Linked DNA regions of Homo sapiens: region 2 is linked to region 1. Evidence: promoter capture Hi-C in 16 types of primary human blood cells and fetal thymus (Javierre and others, 2016). All regions are on one chromosome and are shown on one strand. Each heading gives the region's core, a stretch centred on a gene start or on the middle of the fragment in contact. The rest is flanking DNA. Distances are from core to core; before and after follow the strand shown.

Region 1 (6,544 bases), core at 1,438-3,937:
AAACTGGAGTTACCATTCTCAGGTTTGGCAAACTTTAGAACACCCTCCCAGAATTAAGACCCTGCAGTAGAAAAGCAAGGCTGCCTGGCCCAGCTCTGGCATTGATATGGTTTGGATTTGTGTCCCCGTCCAAATCTCATGTCGAATTGTAATACCCAATGTTGGAGGAGGGGTCTGGTAGGAGGTGACTGGATCATGGGGGAGGACTTCCCCCTTGCTGTTCTCATGATAGTGAATGAATTTTCACGAGATCTGGCTGTTTAAAAGTGTGTAGCCCTGGCCGGGTGCAGTGGCTCAAGCCTATGATCCCAGCACTTTGGGAGGCCAAGGCAGGCGGATCACCTGAGGTTGGGAGTTCGAGACCAGCCTGACCAACATGGAGAAACCTCATCTCTACTAAAAATACAAAATTAGCCAGGCATGGTGGTGCATGCCTGTAATCCCAGCTACTCGGGAGGCTGAGGCAGAAGAATTGCTTGAACCTGGGAAGCAGAGGTTGCGGTCAGCCGAGATCGCGCCATTGCAGTCCAGCCTGGACAACAAAAGCAAAACTCTGTCTCAGGCTGGGAGCAGTGGCTCATGCCTGTAATCCCAGCACTTTGGGAGGCTGAGGCAGGCGAGTCACGAGGTCAGGAGATCAAGACCATGCTGGCTAACACGGTGAAACCCCGTCTCTACTAAAAAATACAAAAAAATTAGCCGGGTGTCGTGGTGGGCACCTGTAATCCCAGCTACTCAGGAGGCTGAGGCAGGAGAATGGTGTGAACCTGCAAGGCAGAGCTTGCAGTGAGCCAAGATCACGCCACTACACTCCAGCCTGGGTGACAGAGCGAGACTCTGTCTCAAAAAAAAAAAAAGAAAAAAAAACTGTGTCTCAAAAAAAAAAAAAAAGCGTGTAGCACCTTTCCTTTCTCTATCTTCCTCCTGGTCCACCACGTAAGACATGCCTGTTTCCCCTTTGCTTTCCGTCATGATTGTAAGTTTCCTGAGGCTTCCCCAGCCATCCTTCCTGTACAGGCTATGGAGCTGTGAGCCAATTAAACCTCTTTTCTTTATAAAATACCCAGTCTCAGGTGGTTCTGTATAGCAATGCGAGAACAGAATAACACAGCCATTAATTCAGTAACTGCAAAGTCCCGCCTCAGCTCTGGAAAAGGATTTGGAAAAAGGAACAGAGATAGAGGGAGACAGATTTCTAATGTAAAAGTCATCTCCCTTTCAATATTCATTACCTTAAAGCAGGGACTGATGGTTGAGGGCCAGCGCACAGGGTCCTTGAGAATGAGGCTGACCAGCTGAAAGATGCTTGTAGCATAGAAGGGAGGGGTGCCTACTGCCAGTTCATATAGTATGCAGCCAACAGACCAGAGGTCCGCTGTGTGGTCGTATGGTCGCTCCTCCACCAGCTCTGGAGACATATAGAGTGGTGTGCCTTTGATGGATGTCAGCACCATTGTATTGGTGCTCATAGCCCGGGCAAATCTGCAGAAGATAATGGGATGGAAATGGAAAGGGAAAAGATATTCTAAACCTGGTCACTACTACCTAACATAGAGATATCCCAAACCGGAGCAGAGGGAGCACCTTTGATTAGGTTCCAGAAGACCCAGCAGCAGTCCCAGCCTCTAGCTCCGGTTCTAAAATGAGGCCCAAATAAGTCAAGAGTATGGTCTAAGATTCCCTGTGGGGCCAGGCTCAGTGGCTCATGCCTGTAATCCCAGCACTTTGGGAGGCCGAGGTGGGCAGATCACCTGAGGTCAGGAGTTCGAGACCAGCCTGACCAACATGGAGAAACCCCATCTCTACTAAAAATATAAAATTAGCCAGGCATGGTGGCACATGCCTGTAATCCCAGCTACTCTGGAGGCTGAGGCAGTAGAATTGCTTGAATCCGGGAGGCAGAGGTTGTGGTGAGTGGAGATCGCACCATTGCACTTCAGCCTGGGTAACAAGAGTGAAACTCCATCTCAAAAAAAAAAAAAAAAAAAAAGATTCCGTGTGGAACTGGAAGCTTAGATGGATGCTCAGAATCTTTACCCAAAGTCACAGAGCTTGATGCCACCACCCTTGGCGAGGAGGATGTTCTGAGGCTTCATATCTCGGTGTAGGATGCGGTGGGAATGCAGATAGTACAGGGCTGACACCAACTGGGCAGCAATGGCCTGAACCTAGAAATTAAAGAGGTGGAAGAAAGAAAAAAAAGGTTAGAAACAGCAGCTGGCTGACAAGCCCAAAAATTTCTCTTAATATTACTGCTAATCTTTTCTTCCTTCCCTTTCTTGCAGAGCTTCACACTATTCTTTCTTAGTTATTGTTCCCCTTGTTTAATCACTCTTTCATTTGCTCATTCATTCATTCAAGAAAAATTTATTGAATCTCATTTACTATCTGCTTGACCATGGGCAAACTAAGGTGACAATCTATATAATAACACCATCTACATGGAGGATTATTGTGAGGACTGAGTTAAAGCATGCAAAATAATACTCAGAATGGTGCCTGGCACATAGTAAATATTCAATACACATTACCTGTTATTAAATAAGACAAAATGCCTTTTTTCAAGAAAAGTAGTCAGACAAACAAACAAGACAGATAAAACAAATATGGTGGTCGGGCGTGGTGGCTCACACCTGTAATACCAGCACTTTGGGAGGCTGAGGCGGGCAGATCACCTGAGGCCAGCAGTTCGAGACCAGCCTGGCCAGCATGGTGAAACCCCATCTCTACTAAAAGTACAAAATTAGCTAGGCATGGTGGCGCATGCTATAATCCTGGTTACTGGGGAGGCTGAGGCACGAGAATTGCTTGAACCTGGAAGGCGGAGTTTGCTGTGAGCCAAGATTGTGCCACTGCACTCCAGCCTGGGCAACAAAGCGAGACTCTGTCTCAAAAAATAAAATTCAATTAAAAATAAAATAATTTCAAAAATATGATTACTTACAAATAGTGGTGAGTGCTCAGAAGGAAAGAGAATGCTGCAATAATGAATCCCAGGGGGGGCCTACTTGCTTGGGTACAGACAAACGCCTAGAATAAATGTGGCTGGAGGATATGTGCAACAAAATCCCACTGCTAACCACTACGTCCTGGTGCCAAATCCTGACTCCCCACAACCTTTATTCTTACTGCCCTCTTTCTGGTACCATTACACTGGCCCTTCTTCCCTAAAGGTATCTAATAACAATAATGTTAATAATAGCTAACTATTCAAACACATTACATGACTTAACACTCTTCATCATAGACTTATCAGGCAAACATGATTATTATCTCCATTTTACAAATTAGGAAACTAAGCACAAAGAAATTAAAGTAACTTGTCCAATGAGACCCAGCTAGGAAGGAGCAGAGCCAAGCTTCCTGCTCAGATATTTTGACTCCAACGTTTACATAATTTACTCCCACACTACACTGCCTCTATATACCTAGACTCTTATATTCTTCTCAGAAGTCTTTGAAATGGAGACTCTCAGTGTCCTTAGCTTGCTCTACCAGTTCTCTAACCTGGAGAGAGGTCGGAGGTGGGGAGAAGTTGAAGGCAGAAAGCATACCTGGTCTTCAGGAAGTTTTCCGTCATCTTCTAGGATCTGAAAGAGCTCTCCCTCAGCATAGTCTGTCACCACCACCACCTACAGAGAGAAGGCAGTGGCACTGATGGCTCCAGATTCATGCATTCTGAGGTTGGGAAATTCCTGGAACCCTTGTGCTTGGGGAGACAGGGCCCAAAACTGTCAAAGCACACCTCTTTATCAGTTTCAAAGCTGTCAAGCATATGCACAATGTTGGGATGCCGCAGACCCCGCATTATTTCAATCTCTCGTTGCAAATTCCTCAGCTCCTTCTCTGAGCGCCCCAATTTTGGGATGAACTTCAGGGCCACGACCTGTCAGTGGTAAGGTGAAAAGTTAACGCCTAATCACACTACTGAAAAGATCTAGAATTTCAGCCTTAATCTCAGAGCTCCAGAAGTCAGATTTTAGAGTGTTTGAGTAACTCTTATTATTTCTGTTAGTCTCCCGCTTCCATTTTCTCCATGGTACCCTGGCCTTATCCAGGCTTTCCCCATTCCTCATCCCAGGAGGAAACAGCATCTGCAAAACATTTCCCCTTCTGGAAGAAGTGTTCTGATTTGACCAGCACTCAAGATGAGATTTAGGAGAAAGGAAAGGAAAAAAAAAATGAAGAGGAAATAATAGAGTTCAAGTGGTTTACCTCTTATTACATGGTGTGCTAGAGACTAATAATATTTGTTGTTTACTAACAGCCAGGCACTGTACTAAGTGATTTAATGTGAAAACATATTTAATCCTCAAACTCCATCAATCAGTTGCTGTTCTTATCCCCATTCTAGAGATAAGGAAATTGAGACATAGGGAAGTTAAGTAATTTGTCCATAATTCTAGGGCTAGAAAGCGGTGGAGATGGAATTTGCACCCAAATAATCCAACTTCAAAGCTTATACTCCATAAGAAGTATGAGGGAGTCAGTACCTTAGGAATACAAACTGGTATAAATACATTCCTTCTAGATCCATTTTCCACTGGAGTTGGGGGTACCAAATCCCACCCAAAAGGTATCCCTCTTTGTGCAACACCTGAGCACTGTATTTTCTTCGACCCTTGTACACCCTCCCAAAAGAGCCTTCTCCAATCATCTCCAACACGTGGTACTTTTCCATGACAGAGGTTTCAGGATCTCTTAGAAGGAAGAAAGTAGAGACGGTGAAGAGCTATAGATCCAGGGACAGTTCCACAACATCTGGGACGCCTAGTTGGGGCACGGGAAAGGAAAAATGTTAGCCACCTTGCCTTTTCCTCTTTTTCACAATAAAGCCTCAAAAAACATGGGAGGGTGGAATGCATGCAAAGATGATGCGCTCTTGGAACAAACAGAGCTTCTCTTTGTAGTTCCTCCCCACTTTCATCCTCCTGTCCCCAACCCGGCCCCATGCCCAACTAACACCTGGTTCCCCTTCTCCCTCACCCAGCCTGGCTCACTCGACCCTACTCTTTCAACCTAGCCTCGCCCAACCAACCCTGCTCCTTTGAGTCTCCCCCAAGTTCCTGCCACTCCCAGACTCCTCAGCACCCGCTCTCAGACCCCCTGGCCCGTGCGCTTCGCAGGCCAGAGCCCCTCTCTCACCCCCAGCCTAGGAGCTCCAAGCTCCTCAGGCCAAGGGACGGATTCCCTGGCGTTTAGCCCCATCTCTTCTGGCTGCCTGCATACGTTGCCTGACTTATAATTCTTCTCCACCCGCCTCTCCCTCCGGTCTCTTTCGGCTCCCTTTCTTACAATTTTACTCGCTAGAACTGGTGAGAAGTTCAGAGGACAAAGGCGCTCAGAGGTGTGGAATGGACGGCGGACCACACATGGGCACTTCCTGGGACACATCCGAACTGCCTCAGGGCCATCAGGCCCGGCTAAGGACCCGGAGTCTGCGGTTGCCTAGAAACGACGCTAGCTGCCCACCCCTCTTAGTTTTCCGCCTCCGACTTCCCTAAGGGCATTTCCGGTTCCGGCTGCGGGCCGGTGAAGATATGGCGGCGTCTGCGTCTGCAGCTGCAGGGGAGGAGGACTGGTAACTTTGGGGGCATGGGCTTTGGCTGACAGCCTGGATCTAGTCCAGAGGCCTAGCAGCTGTCGCAGACGGTCCGTACGGCGGGCGTGTGGGGTGGAGCGAGGGATGAGGGATGGCAGAGATGCTGACATCTCTGGGAAAGCTGGACTGGGGAACGGGAGGGTGGAGGGGCGCTGATCTGAGTGAGAGGAGAACGGGTCGGCGCCCGCCAGGCCAGTTCAGGCCTCGCCGCATCCGGTTCGATCCCTTTTCCTCCAGCTTCACGCCATCCCTTTCTCTCCTCCTCAAATGAATTTTCTCAGGGGCTTTGGGGGATGCCTGCCCATCAGACCTCCCCATCTCCCTTTCTCCTCTCAGAACCAGTGCCCTCCAGTTCCGGCCCCCTTTCCCCTTGGATCAGCCTTTTTCCGCCGACGCTTTCCTCAGCCTTCTCTCTCTCACACAGCACTAGTGAGGACTATTGTATGAATAAAGCTTTACACTTCATATAAAGTCCCTCTAGTCCTTCTCTCAAGCATTCTTAACCAAAGACTAGAACATGGAAGGACTCTGGGATTTGGAAGTAGGATCAATGTGGGTTAACTCCACATTTTATTAGCTGTGTGATGCTGAACAGGCCATCTAGCTTCTGTGAGTCAGTGTCCTCAGCTGTAAAAAAAAAAAGTGGGTGTGGCATTTACCTCAGAATAGTTGAGAGGATCACGACGGATTTGTAATATACTTAAGTCTGTTTTTTGTTTTGTTTTGTTTTGTTTTTTGAGACAGAGTCTCACTCTCGCCCACGCTGGAGTGCGGTGGTGCGATTACGGCTCACTGCAGCCTCGACCTCCCCAGGCTCAGGTGATCCTTCTGCCTCAGCCTTCCGAGTAGCTGAGACTACAGGTGTGTGCCACCATGCCTGGCTAATTTTTGTATTTTTTGTAGAGACGGAGTTTTGCCATGTTGGCCAGACTGGTCTTGAAC
Region 2 (5,893 bases), core at 1,961-4,460, 570 kb before region 1:
AGAGAAGTCCTGGATGGAATGGGTGGTGATTCCAATGAGGGATGGGAACCTCTTTCCAAGGCACAAGGGGCCATCTTCTCAACATGCTGCTTTTTCAGATTTGGGTAGTATGTTGGCCAGGAGCTGGGGGCTGAAGCGCCTCCAGCTGACTGAGGAGGAGAGGAATGTGAGGACGCTGATGCGGGTCCACGGTCATCATCGAGTTCAGGAGCTGCCGCAATGCTGAAGAATGCCTGTGGAGGGAGGAGCCCAGGGTGACCGGATGACACCTATCTGTCAACTCAGCTAATACCAGGGGGGAGTCTGAAACACTTGATGCCCTATTCGTTGCTCACTCACCTGGGGCTTTGTGGGATGCTGAGTTGGTTCTGCACAGCAAGGGCCACACTGTCACCCTTTTGGAACACCATGTCATAAGGGCCTTCCCCAAACATCATGGCATATAGCACGCAGCCTAGGGACTGAGCATAACTTGATTAGTCCCTAGAAGGGGACCAGTGGAGGTGACATCTCTCCCTTTACTTCTGTGGTAAAAGGAGACTCCATAAGCTAAAAAGAATACGCTGACCTCAGCCACATGGCACCACCAGGGTCCAGAGAAACTGCCAGTCAGCTGGAGGCCTCCGCAGCCCCTGTTTAGCTTAGCCCCTGCTTAGCCAGTGCCTTCACTACTGACACTGAGCTGTACTCACCTTGTTCAGGGGCACAGATTATACCACATCCGGTACAACTGGGTACAGTATCAGTGACATTTCCCAGGAAGGAAGTTGAAGTGGATGGGGACATATTGTGGTTCCTGGCGCCCCATGCAACAGAAACCAACAACCTACTCTACTCCACGGTGGGTACAGAGCCACAGCCCTCCCTACCCAGATACCCACCCACATGCTCCTCACCCAGACATCAGTCCGCTCATCGATGACACAGTGACTCTGCACAGAGAAGAGCTCTGGGGCTCGGTAGGAGATGGTGCACCGCTGGGCTGCCCAGTCCTGGAACAGTGATCCCAGAGCTCAAAAGTGGGGCACAGGTCATGGTCATGTGACCAAACTGGGACATGCACCAGAAGGGGTGGGAATGGGGAACAGGTGAGAAAAGGAACCTGGAGACTCTTTTACCTGCAGGGTCAGAGCCTGGCGGGAGCCCTCCACATGGATGCATGCTTGATTCATGGAACCCAAGTCCATTAAAACTGGCTGCCCCTCATCTCCAAGCAATATATTGGTGGGCTTCAAGTCTCTGTAGAGAAGTAGAAGTGACCTATGAGCATCTCTGGACAGGAAGGCTGGAATCCCAGCAAGCAAAAGAATCATACAGGCTGTTTCTTGGGAGAACAGAGACCTCCCATGTCTCCTGGTGAGGCTCTTCCTCTGGGCCCCAGCAAGCACACAGGGTCCTCCCACTGACCTGTGGGCATAACCCTTGGCATGAATGGCCTCAAGGCCTCTGCAGATCCCCAGCAGCAGCCAAAGGATTTGATCCTCGGTCAGGAAGTTGCCTTTGTCCTTCAGCCTTTCTATCTCATTCCACAGCGTACCTCTCTGCAACACAAGTTTCCCTACAGTTGGAGATGTTTTTGGAGCCTCTGCTCCTTAGGCCTGATCCCTTCCCTATGTCAAAGCCTATCAGCCCTTTCATGATACACACCTCAAACTCAAAATCTAAAGTGGCCAAACCCAGGACATGGTCCCTGCTTCCTAACATGCTGGACTGCTCACACAGCCCTTGAGTAGGTGGCTCTGCTGCAACCCCCTCCATAACCAGGAGTCTTTCTGACCTTGAAGAATGGTAGCAGCAGCCAGGCCTCATGCTTAGCACCCCGTTCCCTCAGACAGTAAGCCACGAGGCGAAGGATGTTGGGGTGATTGAAGAGGCGATGCATGTCGGCTTCTCGCTGGGCCTCCTCCCGGTCCTGCTGCTCGTGACACAGGATTCGCTTCAGGGCGTAGAAGTGTCCATCATGTAACCCTTCCACTAGGTCCACATAGCTGAACCCACTGTGGGCCAAAGGGGTCAATAAAGGGCCATGGTCATCTCCCACATGGCTTGGACCTAGAGAAATTTCCTGGTGGGGAGTGGGGTGTCCTTCCCATTTAGCAGAAACCTTCCCAAGATGTGGCTCTAAGAGAAATCTGAAGAATATTACACCGTGAGCTCCTCAGGAGCAGAGATATAGAAATCTTTGAGGTCCTATGGTCGTAATAGAGACCTCTGCACTTGACAGATGCTAAATAAATAATAGCCAACACTTATCAAGTACTTGTCAACCCCGCATTGGGTGAGACATTTTATACACATTATCTCATTTAATCCTCACAACTCCATCAGTGAGGGATAATAATCATCTCCATTAAGCTGATGAAAAAAACATGGTTTATCAAGGTCACACGAGGTGGATTTAGCAGGCCTGGCTCCAGAATCCACCTTCTTGATACTGTGTAGCTAGGTTCTGTCAGGTGAGAGAGGACAGGGATAGGGATAAAACCCTTGTGCCCCAAGCATATGCACACCGCTGTCCTTCAATGATCATAAACTTGAGGACTAGTTAACTGACTTCCAAACACTCACCCCTCCCCCAGTTTCTGGATGAAGAGGTAGCGCTTATTGTCAATGATGACAGTTCCCCGAGAGCAGACACACAGCGCGTGGCCCATAATGTCTCAGTCATCCTCTTCAAGGACGGTCTGAGGCTACCGAAGAGCTCGTCCAGGGTGAGTGGGCTCTTCCAGGAGATGCGCTGGGGGCCCAGCGGATCATGCTGGAAAGAAAACAACGGCAGGGTCACAGGTCCGGCACAATCCAGACGACCCATGAAGTACCAATGCGGAGAGCTCAGGCCCAGGTCTCTGGAACCTACACTATAGTGTAGAGAAAACAGGCCCTGCTCCGTCGCCAGCTTCAGGGGTGGGGTCAGGCGCCTTACGGCCTCAGGACACACAGCGGCTACCGGGCCACTTCCTCCAACCCCAGCCCATCTTTGGGCAGCCCCCGCTCCCACGCCCATCGCGCCGCAAAAGCAGAGCATAGCGTAGTTTCAGAGGACGTGCGAGGCTCAGGCCCACTCCTGGCAGGGCCCACCCCGGTCTAGGAGCCCAGAGCCCGGGATGGGCCATCTGCACTGCCGGACTGACCTGGCTCGGGCCAGAGAGAAGCGCCACCGACCGGAAGCAGTGCTGACATCATCAGTCCGCGCCGGCGTAACGGCCCGCGGTATCTCAGCAACCGCTGGGCATCCGGAGGATGTGGGGACGCGGAGCTGAGAGGCTCCGGGCTAGCTAGGTGTAGGGGTGGACGGGTCCCAGGACCCTGGTGAGGGTTCTCTACTTGGCCTTCGGTGGGGGTCAAGACGCAGGCACCTACGCCAAAGGGGAGCAAAGCCGGGCTCGGCCCGAGGCCCCCAGGACCTCCATCTCCCAATGTTGGAGGTAGGAGGCTTCATACCTCTGGCGCTCTGGGGCAGAAAGCGGCCAACTACACTGCAGCCTGGAGGGGGATCCAGTGAGGGGCGGGTCTGGTGGCCTGGTCTCCTGATCCCGTACAACCTTCTGGGCTCTGGCCTGTATCCCACTACCCCTAGTCTCAGTGGTTAAGAGCTCAGGCTTGTGAACCAGACTTCCAGTTTCTAAATTGAGTGTTAATAGCATGCTAGCTGTGTAACCTCGGGCAAGTTACTTAACCTCTCGGATCCTTACTTTTGGTAGCTGTAAAATAGGTATAATAGTACATAAGGTTAAGTAGCTTAACTGTGAGGCCAGACTGACTAGTTCAAATGACAGCTCCGTTAACGTAGTTGTGTGACCTTGGACAGGCTACTTAATGTTTCTGTCCTTTCCTCTCCTCCTCTGTAAAATGGAAATAATTATCTACCTCATGGAGTTGAAGATTAAATGAGATGTACAGTGTTTAATACAATATCTGACACATAGCCTTCAGTACGTGTCAATAAACCGTAATTATTATTACCCTGATCTTCACATCCCATTCTTGAGACTGTAAAGGCAAAAGGAACGGAAATTCACAGATTTTCGAGCTTTGGCACAAAGCAGTTGTCCTTAATATCTGTTGCGGAGGCAGGCAGGGGTAAGCTGGAGAGGGGTGCACTTCCAAAGAAGGTGGAATGGCCAGGAGGGAATGGCTGTTTTGCTGAAACAGGACTCTCCAGGAAAGAGGTCCTTCTTGTGACCTGGTTCCTCCCTTCCACACCCCGGATCACCCTGAAGATTTTCCAATGGTTTCCCCTGGTTCTGAACCTGTTTTAGCCTTTTGGTTATGACATTGATTCATCCAGATTTAACCTACTATATACCCGGCCCTGTGCTAGAGGCTGAGGATTTGAGATGAACAGGGCACTCCCTGTCCTCAGGGAGCCCAGTCAAGTAAAGCCATGCTTCTCAATTTTGAAGGTGCCTAGGATCACCTGGGAATCTTGTTAAAATACAAATTCTGATTCTATAGGTCTGAGGTAGGATCTGAGATTTTACATTTCTTTTGTTTGTTTGTTTGTGTTTTTTGAGACAGAGTCTCGCTCTGTTGCCCAGGCTGGAGTGCAGTGGCAGGATCTCGGTTCACTGCAACCTCCGCCTTCCGGGTTCAAGCAATTCTCCTGCCTCAGCCCCTACCCCCACCCCCACCCCCACCCCCACCCCCACCCTCGGAGTAGCTTGGAATACAGGCGCGTGCCACCAGGCCCGGCTAATTTTTGTATTTTTAGTAGAGACAGGGTTTTGCCCTGTTGGCCAAGCTGGTCTTGAACTCCTGACCTCAAGTGATCCACCCGCCTCGGCCTCCCAAAGTGTTGGGATTACAGGCGTGAGCCATCGTGCCCAGCCAGATTCTCCATTTCTAACAAGTTCCCAGGTGATGTCGATGAAGCTGGTTCGTGAACTGCACTTTAACATGATGTAGAAATTTTACAAACTAGTAGAGTAAGGGGGTGGCTGCAGGCTGGAGAGGAAGTCCAGGCTAAACGCCTGGCAACTTGAGGTGGTTTCCGCCCCCTTGCTCGCTGAGGTTCCCTCCCAGGAATCCGACACGTGACGGTCTGTCCGCCGTCTCAGACTAGAGGAGCGCTGTAAACGCCATGGCTCCCAAGAAGCTGTCCTGCCTTCGTTCCCTGCTGCTGCCGCTCAGCCTGACGCTACTGCTGCCCCAGGTAAGATGAGACGGTGAACCAGCCTGCCGGGTGCGGTGAGCGGGATCAGATCCAGCGGATGAGAGAAAGTCCAAAGTAACAACCAAACAACCCGCAGGGCTAGTTCCATCTCTTCCGCTCTTGGCAGGCGCTGACCCTCGACGCTCCCTCCAGGCGTCTGCTGAGCAGCGTCTCTTTCTCTTTATAGGCAGACACTCGGTCGTTCGTAGTGGATAGGGGTCATGACCGGTTTCTCCTAGACGGGGCCCCGTTCCGCTATGTGTCTGGCAGCCTGCACTACTTTCGGGTACCGCGGGTGCTTTGGGCCGACCGGCTTTTGAAGATGCGATGGAGCGGCCTCAACGCCATACAGTTGTAAGAAGTGCTCGCAAGAGCCGCGGAGGGATGGGATCTACTTTTTCTACCGCCCCCTTATAAAGAAGGTCGGGACAGGAAGACTGCCAGGACTCCTAGGCCAAGGGTGGGAAAGGGCAGGCCAGGACCTCCTTCCAACCGCTTCCTGGAGATTCCCTGCAAGGCCTGAGCCGTTAGGCCTCCCTGGCGTCTCTTCACCTTGGTTCCTATTAACCTCTTCCTTTCTCAGTTATGTGCCCTGGAACTACCACGAGCCACAGCCTGGGGTCTATAACTTTAATGGCAGCCGGGACCTCATTGCCTTTCTGAATGAGGCAGCTCTAGCGAACCTGTTGGTCATACTGAGACCAGGACCTTACATCTGTGCAGAGTGGGAGATGGTGAGTT

Evidence for each region. The method cuts DNA at HindIII sites, captures the fragments that hold promoters and counts their contacts. A CHiCAGO score of 5 or more calls a contact.
Region 2: a contact is called between the fragment with the promoter of GLB1L here and a fragment that was not itself captured in region 1, in 1 of 17 cell types (total CD4 T cells). The highest score is 6.9, in total CD4 T cells.

The regions. Positions count from the first base shown.
Region 1 is chr2:218,670,967-218,677,510 of GRCh38, reverse strand. STK36 (serine/threonine kinase 36) reads right to left here and starts at 5,425. Exons shown (of 27, transcript NM_015690.5): 1 at 5,296-5,425; 2 at 4,598-4,770; 3 at 3,746-3,886; 4 at 3,555-3,632; 5 at 2,038-2,168; 6 at 1,233-1,482. The coding sequence starts at 4,681. RNF25 (ring finger protein 25) reads left to right here and starts at 5,509. Exons shown (of 10, transcript NM_022453.3): 1 at 5,509-5,581. The coding sequence starts at 5,541. RefSeq lists an enhancer at 5,505-5,604. The HindIII fragment of the contact is 1,348 bases long and covers 2,014-3,361 here.
Region 2 is chr2:219,242,761-219,248,653 of GRCh38, reverse strand. It overlaps GLB1L (galactosidase beta 1 like), which reads left to right and starts at 3,210. Exons shown (of 17, transcript NM_001286423.2): 1 at 3,210-3,425; 2 at 5,011-5,152; 3 at 5,340-5,506; 4 at 5,736-5,886. The coding sequence starts at 5,081. STK16 (serine/threonine kinase 16) reads right to left here and starts at 3,175. Exons shown (of 8, transcript NM_001330213.2): 1 at 2,858-3,175; 2 at 2,569-2,758; 3 at 1,778-1,997; 4 at 1,408-1,541; 5 at 1,119-1,239; 6 at 897-992; 7 at 340-461; 8 at 1-233. The coding sequence starts at 2,654. The coding sequence ends at 95. RefSeq lists enhancers at 3,034-3,463, 2,912-3,494. The HindIII fragment of the contact is 6,920 bases long and covers 1-5,893 here.